Linked DNA regions of Homo sapiens: region 1 is linked to region 2. The links are contacts of gene promoters, found by promoter capture Hi-C in blood cells and fetal thymus (Javierre and others, 2016). All regions are on one chromosome and are shown on one strand. Each heading gives the region's core, a stretch centred on a gene start or on the middle of the fragment in contact. The rest is flanking DNA. Distances are from core to core; before and after follow the strand shown.

Region 1 (7,275 bases), core at 2,192-4,691, 320 kb before region 2:
AAGAATCAGAACAGGCTGGGCATGATGGCTTATACCTGTAAGCACAGCATTTTGGGAAGCCAAGGTGGGAGGATCACTTGAGCCCACCCAGGAGTTCAAGATCAGCCTGGACAACATAGCAGGACCTCGTCTCTACTAAAAATAAAAATGAAAAATAGCTGGGCATGGTGATGCCTGCCATTAGTCCCAGCTACTCAGGAGGCTTAGGCAGGAGGATCACTGGAGCTCAGGAGGTTGAGGCTGCAGTGAGCCATGGTCATGCCACTCCACTCCAGCCTGAGTAACAGAGCAAGACCCTGTCTCAAAACAAAACAAAAAAACATAAAAGAATCAGAAGATATCTAGCAACCCTCCCAGTCAGTATCCCCTCACCTCAGGGTAGCCATGCTCCTGACTTCTGACATCATAGAACATTTTGCCTGTTTCTGAACTTTAAGGAATCATACAGGATGTTCTCTTTCATGTCTGGCTTCTTTCTCATTGGTAAGATGCATCCATGTTGTTGCATGGGGCTGTAGTCCATCCTTATTGCTGAGTAGTATCCCCAGCTTTGTATTTAAATGTTATTTTTCTTAAAGTAGGCTAGAAATCAATAATAGAAACATAGTAGAAGTAGCTATTTGTTCTCCTGATGATCTATTGATCCTGATGGTAAAATATCTAAATCATACAAGCTGCCTGGAACTTTGCAGAAGAGAGAAACTGATCTTATTAAGTTGGAGGCTTCATTGAGATTCTTCTTATGCTGCTCAGCTCAAGTGAGGGCACGGGCTGCTTCCTCCTTATGAAGTAGGAAAAACAAATGACCCACCTCCTGCCCTTGCGCAGAACAGAGCTTCTGAAAGAAAAGCATGCTGCAGCTGTCCTTAAAAGTGACCCTTTCAAAAAACTTAATCAGACTGCATATTGTTTATTTCAGCAAATAGCATTCAATGACTCTAAAGACAAATAATGCCTTACTGCAATTTGTACATAATTTTTGGAAAACAATACTATTCTAATTTTTACCAAGCAAGCAAACAGTAATTTATTCCCAGGGCTGTTCTAGTAGACCTTTCTTCACTTGCCTTGAGATACAGATTCTGAATATAAATTCCATCAACACCTGTAGTTTTTCTTCTTTACCCTCTGTAAGAATTAGAATGCAAATCACGAACCCCAATTCTTAGAAACCTACCACTTCTTATCAGCCAGAATTATATCCAGGTCCGTTGGAAAAATCAACCACTGGCAAAGGGAATGAGATTACCATACTTGGCATATAACAACAGTGTTTATCCCTAAAATGAGGAATACAGTCCCCTTGCCTGAGTGACTTTCAAACAAAACAATGGCTCTTCTGGCAAGGGAGACAGGGAGAAAGATTATTGGGCTAAAAACTACCCAACCATTATCTTCCACAGTCTACCTCTTTGACTTCCTAGCTTCCATACATTGTTCAAAAAGTGCTCATACTTCCACAAAATGCACATAGTCCTTCCAAGGGTGAAAAGAACCTAAAGTCTCATCAAGAAAAAAACAAGATAAACCCAATAAAACCTTTCATTCAGAAAAGTGACTGTCATCACTGATCCATAGCACATGTTATTTCCTGAAGGACATCAATAGCAAATACTAGTTCCATGACCCAGGAATCGAGTGAGTTTCTCTGTCAGCCCCATGGACGTCCCTAGTTCCACTCCACTGGAGCCTCCCTTGCCCATTGTCTTCCATGGCCATTTCTGGGGTAAGCGTTGAAGAAGATGCCCTCCTGGATGCTGCCAGATTTAACAGCTCACTTCCAGTAGATACAGATTCTATGGCCTCAGGACAATAGGGCTTGAATTGTTCCAGACTTTTATCAGTTTGAAATTCACTTCTGGTCAGGTCCAGGCACCGATAATGGCCAGTCATCTTGTCTGAACGAGGCCTGTGAGAGCCACAATCCCTCCTCCTCCCCACATGTCTCTATGATTTTCCCACCTTCAAGCACGAAGTTTAATGGCTTCCACCTTGAGGCAACTGGTAACAAAAGCCATGTGGTGGAAGAGGGTGTGAAGCAGGGGAGGGGTGATGTCACCTGTGACCCCAGCCCTCCTGGGTGCACCTAAGCTAGATAGTGCCTCCTGTCTTACAAAGGATGTGTGGTGAGGGATATTAAGGAGAGGCATGGGGAATCAGATTTGCTTTTGTCCCAATTTTATCAGTCATATCTCCGGAGAAATTTCTTTTTTCTCTACCTTTTGGGAGGTGAGTAGGAGAAGGATATCAATTTTGTACAAAATTGGGATTTGCAAGCTTGAAAATCTCCAAACTATGGCCTTCAAATCGATTTAGATTCTAGGTTATGGGCAGGAGGAGTCTGTATTAGCAAAACTCAACTGTCTTCCCTTTCTGCATTCAGGCATGTCACTTTTCACCTAAACTTGCCTCTTAGACTATCCCTTTCTCAAAGGCTTCAAGCAATAACGAGCATGTGCCAATATCCCCAATTTTCCTACCAATACCTCTAACCCTACAGTGTCTATAGGCACAAGAGCAGAGTCCCAAAGTCCAACTTGTGACAAAATAACCAAAAGCTACAGACTCAGAAATTTTGAAATATGGCTTTTACTGTTATAAAATACATAAGAGCTACATTTAGAGAGAAATGAAGGAGTTGACCACCAGCTGAAGTCAGGAACTATCACACCCAGTTTCACATTTTCTCTATTATATACATGTGTAAACTCCAGTTTCCCTCTGCCTACATCACCTTTCCAGAAATTCTTTTAGGATCTACAGGGAAGGGAGGCTCTTTTCCTCATAAGTAAACATACTTTTAAAAAGAGATTTGAATATGTATTTTGAAAACAAGATGAATCACAGCAAACAATATAAAATATAAATCTGAAAATAGATCAGGATATACAGCTTACACGGGGAGGATCATATCATTTTGATGAGAAGAACTAAAGGGAATACAGCATTGAAAATGTCTTTGTCTGGCTAGGCATGGTGGCTCATTCCTGTAATCCTAGCACTTTGGGAGGCCAAGGTGTATCACCTGAGGTCAGGGGTTCGAGACCAGCCTGGCCAACATGGCAAAACCCCGTCTCTACTAAAAATACAAAAATTAGCTGGGCATGGTGGCACATGCTTGTAATCCCAGCTACTCAGGAGGCTGAGGCAGGAGAATCACTTGAACCCGGGAGGCAGAGGTTGCAGTGAGCCGAAACCATTCCACTGCACTCCAGCCTGGGCAACAGAGTGAGACTCCATCTCCAAAAAAAAAAAAAAAAAAAAAGAAGATGTCTTTGTTCATTGAGATTTTTAACTTTTAAAAAACATAATATGAAGTTCTGTTCATTAGGGACAGTGCCAGTTAAAGTTTGGTTTAAGGCAGTAGCTTGTCTTCAGTTTTCCATTAATAGCCAATTGATTTTCCTCTATGACACTGGGAGAAAATATGAGGAAGGGTTCACCATTGATCCTTCTGATCTCTGCACTCTTATTCAAAGTCAAAATTCTAATCTGGCAACATGCTGCACAAACACCAGCACTAACACCAGCATCTGGGGCTTCACTATGTGGTTCTGATGGTATAATTCTCACCATGTGTAGGTTTGATGATATCTAAGCCATATCAACTTCCCTCCCAGAAAGGAGTACTCCCATTTAGTTTTGAGTTGAATGTTAATCAATTCCCTTTATACAAGTTCAGCATAGTTGAACAAAACAGAACCATGTTCCAAAACCAAGGTTGATGCAATATATCATGCTCACCAATTTATCCCTATTAGTACATTCCTGACACATGGCCAGTGCTCAATAACTACTTACTGCATAGATGAATACATGAAAAAGACATGGCCACTGAGCAGCTCAGACAGCCTTGGCTTTGAATATTTTGCTGGTCACATTAAGTTATTTGCAGTTTACTGACAAGGAACACATGGGGAAGCCAGATGTTTGTAATTTTGAAATAGTTTATAGTTTCATTAGACTTTGAGTCTTGCTTGTCAAATAGCATTTATTAATATCCACTTTCTCCCAGGCAGAGCTCTAGGCATAAGGCAGAAAGTTAAAAATTCCAGAATAAATCTCTTTCTACATTTTTCTTCCTCCACTTCAAATACCTGATTCTAAGCCAGGTGTCTGTGAGATCCAGCCCCCAAACACTGCAATGACTGACTCCAATGAGGCTCCTTAAAAGCTGCCTTTCCTTTCTCCTCCCTCCAATCTCAGAAATAACCACTGCCTTCCAATTCCTATAACATTGTTCTTAGCACTCATATAGTAGCTATTATTGCAAGTTGCACACATGGAGATAGAATTACTAAAAACACATGGCTTTCTGTCTTTCTGTGCTGTGTCATGAGTTTGTTGGAGGGAGACACCCATTTATAAATAACACACATTTGTCAAATCAATGAATAAACAACAGAGATGCATCTTTCCTTCTCTTTAACTGAGAATTTAAAGGTAAAAAATGTATACTGGATAAAGTTCCTTTCTTCAGTACTGGACAAATAAGGGAAAAGACAGGGAAAATCTACTATTTAGCTAGAAAAGCGGCAAAGGGGAAAAGTCTTATCTCTGGGCTCAGTCATCTGGGAGAATGCACATAGTAAGTGAAATTCTTTGATAAGCTTCTCATCGAGACAGGTCAACTATATGTTTTCCCCTTGACTTCTGGCCTATCTTGTGACTCAGCTGTAGCCAATGGAAAGCAATGGAAGTGATGTGGCATAACTTCTGAGGCTGTCAGCAAAGGCCATGCTGCTTCTACCTGATTCTCTTAGGGTGCTCAATCTAGGAGAGCCTGCCTCTGCCACCATCTAAGAACTTGGACTATCCTAGGACCATGGGATTGCTGTGCTGGAGGTGCCATGTGTTTGTGGGCCTCTGGTCAACAGTCCCAGCTGAACCAGTCAACAGCCAGTGTTGGGCACAATGGCTCATGCTGTGATACCAACACTCTGAGAGGCTGTCATGATGGGTATCACTTGAGATCAGGAGTTTAAGACTGACCTGGTCAACATGGCAGAACCCCATCTCTACAAAAAATTAAAGTTAAAAAGCAAAAAAAAAAAAAAAAAAAACCCAGCCAGTGTCAACTATCAGCCATGTGCATGAGCCACCTTGGACATCCAGCTCAGTCAAACCTTCAGGTGACTGCAACCCCAGCCAATATCTGACTGCAACCACATGAGAGACAGTGAGAACTGTCAAACTGTTTCTAAACCTGACTCTCAAAATACAATAATTGTCTTAAGCTGCTAAATAATGGGGACATTCACTACACATTAATAATAACTGGACCAATTGCCTCTGGGTATTACCACTGTAGAAAAACCCTGAATTTTTCTTCTCTACTCTTGAATGGGGCTGTTGAGCCCTTTGTCAATTTTCAGACCAAGCATATACAAAGACATACAAGCATAGGACCATTCATCAGTGAGTGTCTTACTCCATAAATGAAAACAGGCTGGGCGCAGTGGCTCACACCTATAATCCCAGCACTTTGGGAGGCCGAGGTGGATGGATTACCTGAGGTCAGGAGTTCAAGACCAGCCTGGCCAACATGGGGAACACTGTCTCTACTAAAAATACAAAATTAGCTGGGCATGGTGGCACATGCCAGTAATCCCAGCTACTTGGGAGGATGAGGCAGGAGAATCACTTGCACCTGGGAGGTGGAGGTTGCAGTGAACTGAGATCGCGCCATTGAACTCCAGCCTGGACAAGAGTGAGACTCCAACTCAGAAAAAAAAAAAAAAAAGAACAAAAAACTTTCAGAGCCTGCACATGTAGCATCCATCAGAATGTAAATTAAAATCATAAAAGCTTTCTGGAATGAAAGCAGCCTCTGCTTAATTAAGGCAAGCAGTGTAACACCTGTTAAGATGAGCGTCATGAGGATAATTATTAGAGGCTTCTACAAAGTGATGTTTCTTAGTTACTGAACAAAGACTTGGTTACTAGAAAGGCTCAGAAACTATTCTCCTCTGAGAGGAAATGAGGGAGTAAACATTCACAGAAACAACTTGTGATTGAAGCTAGCTCTGCCCCCACGTAGGGGAGCAAGGCTGACTTCATGTTGTACATCCCCGTGACTAATCTCTGACAATCAGTCTAAACTACAAATGTTCTCCAGCCAAGGCAACAGTAGGAAACTTTTCCATATGGCCAAATCTTTCCACAGTCAGTATGGTTTGCAGGATTTGTAAATTAGACCTTTCACTTGCACAAAAGGAAATAATTGTACATGTGACCATTTGTTCTTCCTTGCTTTGTACTCCTTTCCATTGGAAATGTGCCCCATCCACGTGTGGCTGTCCTTCAGCGTAATGAAGAGCCTTCTAGAGGCTGTCTCCTTCCTTGCAGACCCTGCTCTTTTCTGTTCAGCCCTCAGCACTCCCCACATGTGGGAAGGAGTGGGCTGGCCTTCGGGGTAGTTCAAAGAGCTGAGCTGCATCACATCTCATCTTTCCTCACAGCCTGGCAGGCCAGGACCAGGGCAGCTCATGTCTAAGCACACACAGGCAAGGATCTGATTATTAGGAGTGACTTCTTCTAAGTATACCTCTAGCTCTACTTGGGACTGAGAACTGAGAACTGTACACCAATTCTTGGAAGCCCCCTGCTTGAGCGATCTTGTTGGAAAGATCCCTTAGAAATCCAGAAACGCAGTGTATTGCAAACTATGCTTAGAAAAGCCATAGGAACACAACTCAGGGTTGCCACAGAGAAGGAAGGGTGGGGAAATGAGATGAGTGGAACTCTGAGACCCCACCCACACAACAACCCAAAGCATCTTATCTGTTTCCTGTTTCTCATGATGGATTTGAAATCTTTTATTTGTAGAAATTGTTTGGAAACTGCTGCAAATTTTGAAATCAGAAGGCTGTGCACTTAAATTCCAGCTCCGCCCCTTATTGATATTCACTGAATGTCCCTGGCCCCAAATCTTCTGCAAAATGGGGATAGCAATGTAAAACTCACAGGCATAGTGAAGATTAAATGAGATGATGTGATCAGAGAGCCTGGCACATAGTAGTTGCTCAATAAATGATAAAAGTTGGGGATTTAAAGGTTCAGTAATATGGCTCTCTTTTTCTCTGCCCAAGTTCAGAATTGGTTAAGAAAGAGACTCAGAAATAACACAGATGAAGCCCTAAAGGAGCAATCTAGTTGGAGAATGAGGTTTAGCTATATGGCAACAGAGGGCTTTCTAATATTGCACCCCAGAATTAAACTCACCAGCTCAATCACAAGCAGAACTGGAAATCTGTAGGCCTGCAGAAGAGATGG
Region 2 (7,332 bases), core at 3,149-5,648:
CTCTTTTTCTTAAGATCCTACAGAATGAATTTATGCACACACAAAAACAAGTATAATACAAAACATTCAAAACAAGTCACATCCATTTTTTTAAAAAAAAGAAAACAGCAAGATGAAAATAGGCAAGGGATGGGTTGCTACTTCTATGTGCAAGGTACTGGATTCTTGCATTGAGAATCCTAGTGTCGGGCCTCACGTCAAGCATCACATCAAAAAAGTGTGCAGAAAAATGAGTCACCTTCAATATGAAGGATGTGAGTTGTGTACACTGACAACGGTCTCAAAGATACAACATTATTGCAGGAGGAATGCCTGTGTACAGAGTGGACCATCTTATGAGGCCAAAAACCCATGAGTTACCAGATGACCATTCAGATATTTGGGTTAAACGATGACAGTTTTCTGGTTTAATCAAGGCACTTGCAAAGAGCTATCTTTGACATGACATGAAGTCCCTACGTGTTGTTAGCCATTAATGATGGCATGGTTTTTCTATACCAAGCATTCTATAACAAGAACCCAAGCCTGACAGTTTGATCACAAAGTCACTTATAACATCAGGACTACAAAGCCAGATTTGCTTAAACTTTCCCCAAATTATGATTTTTTATAGATCACATCTGAACAGAAAGGCTTCACTTAAGATCTTGATTCTCCGGAGCTATAATTCATCTTCTTTCTCCAATACCACCCACATTCTTAAAGGTTATTTAGCTTTTCTCCACAAGGATACGTAGAATGGATCTTTTTCCCCTCCAGAAATAATTTCCCCAGGAAAGAATTGTAAAACCAACTTAAAAACACAAAATAACCTTACGTTTTTCCACCAACAATGATCAGACCTCCCACTCCTCTGACTTGAGCTTCAGAGCCCTTTGTGTATACTTTTCACACATTCCTCATACCATTAACACAGCTTTCCATCACCATCAGCCATCCTTCCTCAACTTTTCCTTGCCCAACATGAAAGCTAGTGGATTGAGAGGGAAGGAAGAAGGGAACTGAAAAAGTATTACCTTTATAAAAATAGTTTTCAACCTGTTACTTGATCCTTCAAAGCCAAATTGGGTAGCATCATCTGTACAGACCCCAACACTAAATTCTCAAGTGTCTTTCTTTTCCATAGCCAGGTCTCAAAAGCTCAAATCTAAACCTACTGATGGAGTAGCAAAGGCTTCCTAAAATTGAGCAATACAGACCTAGGATTGCATGGGGGAATATGACAAGTCAAGACCAGTTACATTGTTGCTTAATTCATCGATAAGAGGCCAAGTTCTCCATTCTCCCCCAGCTCTGCCACTCTGGGAAGAGCCCACTAGCCAGCCTCGGACTGCCAAAGATTGTTGACTCTAACTCTGTCTTAGGAGACGTCTGGTGGAATGCACAGTCCTGGGGTGCCATCTGTGTCTGCACCCCATCAGGCTTCCATTGAACATGAACAATTCTATAATTCTGACCATCATTGTTGTCCCAAAAGACTTGCCCATTAGCATGGTAAGAAATGCAGAACTCAATTTTCTGCTCAGTTGGAATGACAGGGGGTAAGTCAATGGCAAATGAGAAGGTATCACTATCTGTGCCACCATACACATTTTTCATATAGACACAGTCTACGTCAGTGTAGTTTTTCCAAGAATCGAAAGTGATACGGATCTGAACTTTCTTCTCAAAACTCACATTTTTGACTTTAACAGTCCCTGTCACTGTTCGCTCTTGCAACGAGCAGTTCTCCAGACAGACAAAGTTCTTCTGAAAGTGGCTCCGGAAACTTAAGTAATCGGTTGAAGGCTGAGGGAAATCTAAAATCAAGTTTTTCTCCTCGTGGTGTTTTAAGGCAGAGGAGATATCATTAAGGTCCAAGAGATCAAACTGCAGATCCCACGCTGGTTCTTCTGGGAGGTCGGAGAAGACATGGATCGCAGTGAGAGAGAGGCCCTTGGAGTCAGCAAACACAACGCGCTTCTTGGCTTGGTTGTGTGAGCACTTCCAGTCATTCTGTGATTTGGCTTTGTGTTTTATATTGAGACATGATTTCAGGGGCTTTAATTTATTCACAAAATGTCGTCGTTGAAATTCATCGTACGGGCCCAGGAAACTCTTCACAGGTGGTGAATGTGCCAAGCAAAGCCTCATGGCCACATCCACGGGCATGACCGAACTTGTCAAAGGACGTGGATCTAAAACCTGGATCATTCTGGAATGCAAAAAGAAGAGGGATTATCACCTGGATCGGAAATGCTCTTCCCCAGTGCCAAATACATATGTACTATTTTTGTGCTGACTGAATTATAGCCAGTGCACTAGATATCAGGCAGGTGCTATCATATGTAGTAAAAGAGAACAGTATTAAGTGATCAGATCTTCTATGTCTACCTCTACCCTTGGCCGGCTAAAGGCTATTAATTGCTTAAAACACTTAGAGGGTGATGGGGGTCTCAGTTTCCCCATCTGAGAAATAAAAGGGTTCGATTTGATTATCTCCAAGGCAGCCTTGAGAACTGTGTGCTCTGTTCTGGACCAGTGGTCCTCAAACCTGTCTGGTCACTATGTCTAGGGAATTCATTTTCTTTCTTTCTTGTCTTTCCTCCTTTCCTCCTTCCCTCCTTCCTTCCTTTCTTCCTCTCTCTCTCTCTTTCTCTTTCTTCTTTCTTTCCAATTCCTGGGACTCAGAACTACTGAGGCAGAACTTCTGGGGCTAGGGCCAAGGGATGGGTATGTTCTTAAAGCTTCCCAGGTGATTCTAATGACCAGACAGGTTCAGGAGCCACAGTTCCAGACCCTCTGCTCCCTCTGGCTACGTTGGCTTATTTTGCTGCTAAATTGATTGACACTTCTCTGGTAAGGTAATTCACTTGAAAAAAAAAAAATAACATGCAACAGTTTTGAGAGTGAGAAGGCTAGAGAAGAAGTCAAAGAATCATCTTTGCACTTTGATTATCATGCTCTTATTTTTCACAAATAACCACTGAAATACAAGCCAACAATTCATATGCACTTAAAAACTATATAATTGATAATTCACCTAAAGAGATGCCCATGACAAGTCCACATTTAAGTGGAAAAACTGATTACCTGAAAGTTGGAGTGTTTTAAAATATACATTTTATATATACAAACTTATAAATATTGAAAAACTCTATAGGAAATACACCTTTCCTAATAATTTAATAATTATTATTTCTGGGTGATAGGATTATAGATTATCTATTTTCGTTTTTGTTCTTTTTTGGCATTTTCTAATAGACATTTATAAGTAGAAAGACAATAAAACCATTTAAAGTTTTAAACATGACTATGCTCAGCAATATTAAACCAAGAAGCATCTATAAAGAAGACTTTTCTCTGACCTTTAGCCCTCATCATATATTTCCAAGCTTATGGTATTAAGATTTTTTTCCCTATCTTAGCCTTACAAGTAAGAGGTGTGTGTATACTGTACACGACATTTCTCAGTCTGGCTTTAGTAACTCTCCTCACAGCAGCTCTAAACATGTATGCAAGTGGTCATTATCACAAAAGTGTGTAATAACACTCGCAGAATTTACTGTGTTAGCTCTGGGGTTTTTCTGGGAGATCTGCAAACTTAGAACAAACAAATGAAAGCTAAAGCTATATTTGTGGGTCTAATAATAGTTAATAGGCAGGATTTTTAGAGAAGTCTTCTGCTAAGCTATGTCTGGAGAAGCTATTTAAAGTAGTTTTATGGGAGGTTTTTTTTGGTTTTTTTGTTTTTTTTTTTTTACTTTTTGCATTTATAGAAAGACAGTTTTAGTTTGGGTGATTTCCTTGGAACTTTAAGTCCTGGACAAGAGTTAAAAGTAATCGTTTGCTCAAACTCTTGAGATTTTGCTATGGCAAACTGTGATAAGAAGGACGAATGAATGCAAACGTCGTCCTGTAATTTTTTTCCTCCAAGCTAAACCACCTAACCAGCAATGTCAGAGTGCTGTTCTCACCACTTCAGCTGCCCGAGTCTTTGGGACATTTGTGCAGGACCAAAAGAACAGCCGCATCCATGAGAAAATCCTAACTCAAGCTGATTCACGTTAAGATAATTTCTGCTTTAAGATGCTGATTACTAAAATAGGCTCTGCTTAAGAAATAGAGCCAAATTTCTACACCTCCAAGGCCTCTCGGTTGCCAGATTCAACTACGCAGTCAGTCCACTTGTCCTCCCCCTGGGGTGTCCATTTCCAGAGATGATAGAACTGAAACGCCCCCCAACTTCCCCACAGCTGCGCGTTCCCCTGTGTTCCTAGCGCGCAGAGTTGCAGCGAACCTACCTGGTGCAGCTCATTAGGCAGAGAGGCGGCGGACCCTAAAAGCCAGCACCCGCTGCCTGCACAAATTCGAACCACAGCTCCAGGCCTTGCCCCCGCGGCGGTCGCTGGGAGAGACTGAGGGCCCGGCGCCTAGAGGCCGCTTATCTGCTCCCAAGCACGTGACCCGATCCCTGGGACCAATCGCCGGGCCTCGAGCCCCAGGGCGCGACCAACCAGCGCCCAGCTGGGGCGCCAGCCCTCGCCCCGGCAACGTGATCGCCCCGGGGCGAGACGTGCAGAGAGCTATCTGGGCATCGCGGGGAGGTTCTGGGACTCCGCGGCCAGCTGGAACCAGCCGCGTAACGGGAACCCTGGGCTAGGGGCCGGGCAGGCACGTACCGCATGCAGCGGGCGCCGGCCAAGAGAGAGCGCAGCCAGCCTCGCCCAGGCGGGGCGCCAGTGCCTCAGGCTTGGGGCGGCTGTTACTTGGGAATAGCTTTGTGGGTCACTGCGGGTGAATCTGCACACAGAAGATGTGGCTCAAACCGAATGTGTATCGCATTTGAAATGTTTATATCGTTCATTACCCGGTGTATCCGCATTTCTCCCTCACCTTAGCCTGCGCGATCCCAAACTGGCTGCATGCTTTTCGATTAGTATGAGTTCACAGATGCACCACACAGTAGACAGCTGCCGGGAATTACCAACTTATCTAACAAATGTTGTTAGGAAAGCATACGAGCCCCATAAAACACCAAGGTGGCATTTAATTAAAAGACACTTCGTATTTCTGTCTATTCTTCAATTTTCTCCCCTGCGGGGAACACTAAAGCCGGAAGTGAAATGACCCTTTTCACACATACAGCCGGTCAAGAGGCAGCAGTCAACCCAAACCCCTTACTCAATTCTGACGTCCTTTGGCAGTGGTGTGGAAATCAAAATGTTAAAATAAAATTTAAAAAATCACGCCGTATGTTTCATGGGCCTTCTGAGCCACTCACTTTCGCTGAAGTTTCATTATTTTGATTAGTTTGAAGAATTTTTAGACCATCATTTACAACTGTAAAATTAAATGTCTAAGTCAAGTCTAAATTATTTTTATAAAACCCACATCCTAGTTTTGCTCCCCTAATTGAGCTATCCATTAGTCAATTAAAATATACAAAAATTCCTATGTCTTTTAAACAACTGTCAAACAGTGGAATTGTTAAAATTATTAGAGTGAAGAAAAAAATCACACTGAATATCACTGGGAAAGGGACTTCATGCCTGGGTTTTATTTTTGAAATGAAATATCTAACTAATGGCAGGTCTTCTAGCCCCTTTAGCTCAACCAAAACTAGCTGGAAGGTCTTTGGATTGACACTTACTAGCTACACGAATCTAGGCAAGTTCTAACCTCAGTTTCCTCATGTGTAAAACAGAGATAGTAACGTTCTGAAGATGAAGTAAGATGGTGCCAATGAACAGACTCAGCACGATGCCCAGTGCCTGTGTTCCACCCGGGCTAGTTCCCAAGTTTCTACTTGATCTCTCAGCTAGAGTTTTTACTCTATCACCTCAAGGCGCCTGGTGCCTGAGCTAAAATATTGAGAATAGCTGCTGCTTGTTGAGCCTTTACTCTGTGCCAAACACTATGTGCTATCAATTCAATCCTCACAACAACCCTATGTGATATGTCCAATTATTAATCCCATTTTAGAGAAAAGAAAACGGAGACACTGAATGGTCAGGAAATCTGCCCAGTGGATCACTTGAGGCCAGGAGTTCAAGACCAGCCTGGCCAACATGGTGAAACCCTATCTCTACTAAAAATACAAAAATTAGCCGGGCATGGTGGTGCACACCTGTACTCTCAGCTACTCTGGAGGCTGAGGCAGGAGAATCGCTTGAACCCGGGAGGCGGAGGTTGCAGTGAGCTGAGATTGCACCACTGCACTCCAGCCTGGGCAACAGAGCGAGACTCTATCTCGAAAACAAAAAACAAAAAAAAAACCTGCCCAGGTTCTCACAGGTAGAGCAGGGATTAGAGCCTGGCTGATACCAGAGCAATAACCGCTGCACCATATTGTCTTATTTTAATGACCCATCAATGGTTAGAATTATGGAGGTAGGAGGTGATAGGCATCAAACTCTTTATTTCACAGATGAGGAACTGAAAGCTTAGACAGGTCAAGCTGCTTGCCAGGGGCTGGCTAGGTCTGAGCCAAAACTAGAACCCTGGGTATTCTTTTCCTCTACCCATGATTATATGTTGAGCTAAATAGTAAATATTACCAGTTAAAACTATGGAGAAACATGAATAACAATTTATGGTGATCGCATTTTGAGGGAAAGGTATCCATGCATAGAAAACAGAATGTGCTCTACAGAAATGTGAACAGTTCATTTTGGAATGGTGAGATTATGAGTGATTAAAAATGTCTTCGTTGTTTTGCTGCTCTGTTGTTTTTCTTAATTTTTCTACAATGAACATACACGACCTAATTAAGAAATAATTTTTCAAGGGCGTTAAAACTCTGGGATTCAACTAACACATATAGCGTACTGCTAGGTGCCAAGAACCGTGGTGGAAATTTTCACATGCTTGTGCCATTTACTCACACCACCCTTTCAGCCTGTTCCATTCATACAGCTTTCTCTCCTGCCCCCTGGTGTTGACTAATGCCATAGAAGTCACTCTCCCTTTCAGCTCCTTCAAATGGAAGATTCAGGGAGACCATGCTTTCTCCTAAAAGGACTCAACACTCACTCAATAAACCTCTAAATTGGATGATCCAGGCTTTTCACTTCTGTCTCCTTCCCAGCTTTTGCTCCCCTTCATTATTGGATGAGAGAAACTAGGATGGAATCAGTGTTCTTAGTTGTAGGTTGCACCAATGAAGACAGAGTAGAAAGGAATCGTGGGGAGTTGTACTATTATTCGTAGGATTTCTCCCACTGTGGTTTGGCAGCATCTAAACATTGCTTGGTCCTACCCATCTTAACAATCAATCTATCAGCAGGAAATTATTGAGCTATGCAGTAGTTCCAGCTCCATGCCAGGGGTTACAAAGTCTGAGCAGTCATA

The links. Contacts are between HindIII fragments. The CHiCAGO score rates a contact against its expected background, and 5 or more counts as called.
Region 1: a contact is called between a fragment that was not itself captured here and the fragment with the promoter of PPP1R3C in region 2, in 10 of 17 cell types (naive CD8 T cells, total CD8 T cells, non-activated CD4 T cells and 7 more). The highest score is 8.9, in naive CD8 T cells.

Annotation. Positions count from the first base shown.
Region 1 is chr10:91,307,928-91,315,202 of GRCh38, forward strand. The region is part of intron 4 of HECTD2-AS1 (HECTD2 antisense RNA 1); the gene reads right to left. Among named protein-coding and RNA genes, the nearest start is that of PCGF5, 91 kb to the left of the region's middle. The HindIII fragment of the contact is 2,333 bases long and covers 2,276-4,608 here.
Region 2 is chr10:91,628,673-91,636,004 of GRCh38, forward strand. It overlaps PPP1R3C (protein phosphatase 1 regulatory subunit 3C), which reads right to left and starts at 4,399. Exons shown (of 2, transcript NM_005398.7): 1 at 4,284-4,399; 2 at 1-2,194. The coding sequence starts at 4,297. The coding sequence ends at 1,255. RefSeq lists enhancers at 4,030-4,531, 4,532-5,031 and a silencer at 4,366-4,505. The HindIII fragment of the contact is 3,050 bases long and covers 3,373-6,422 here.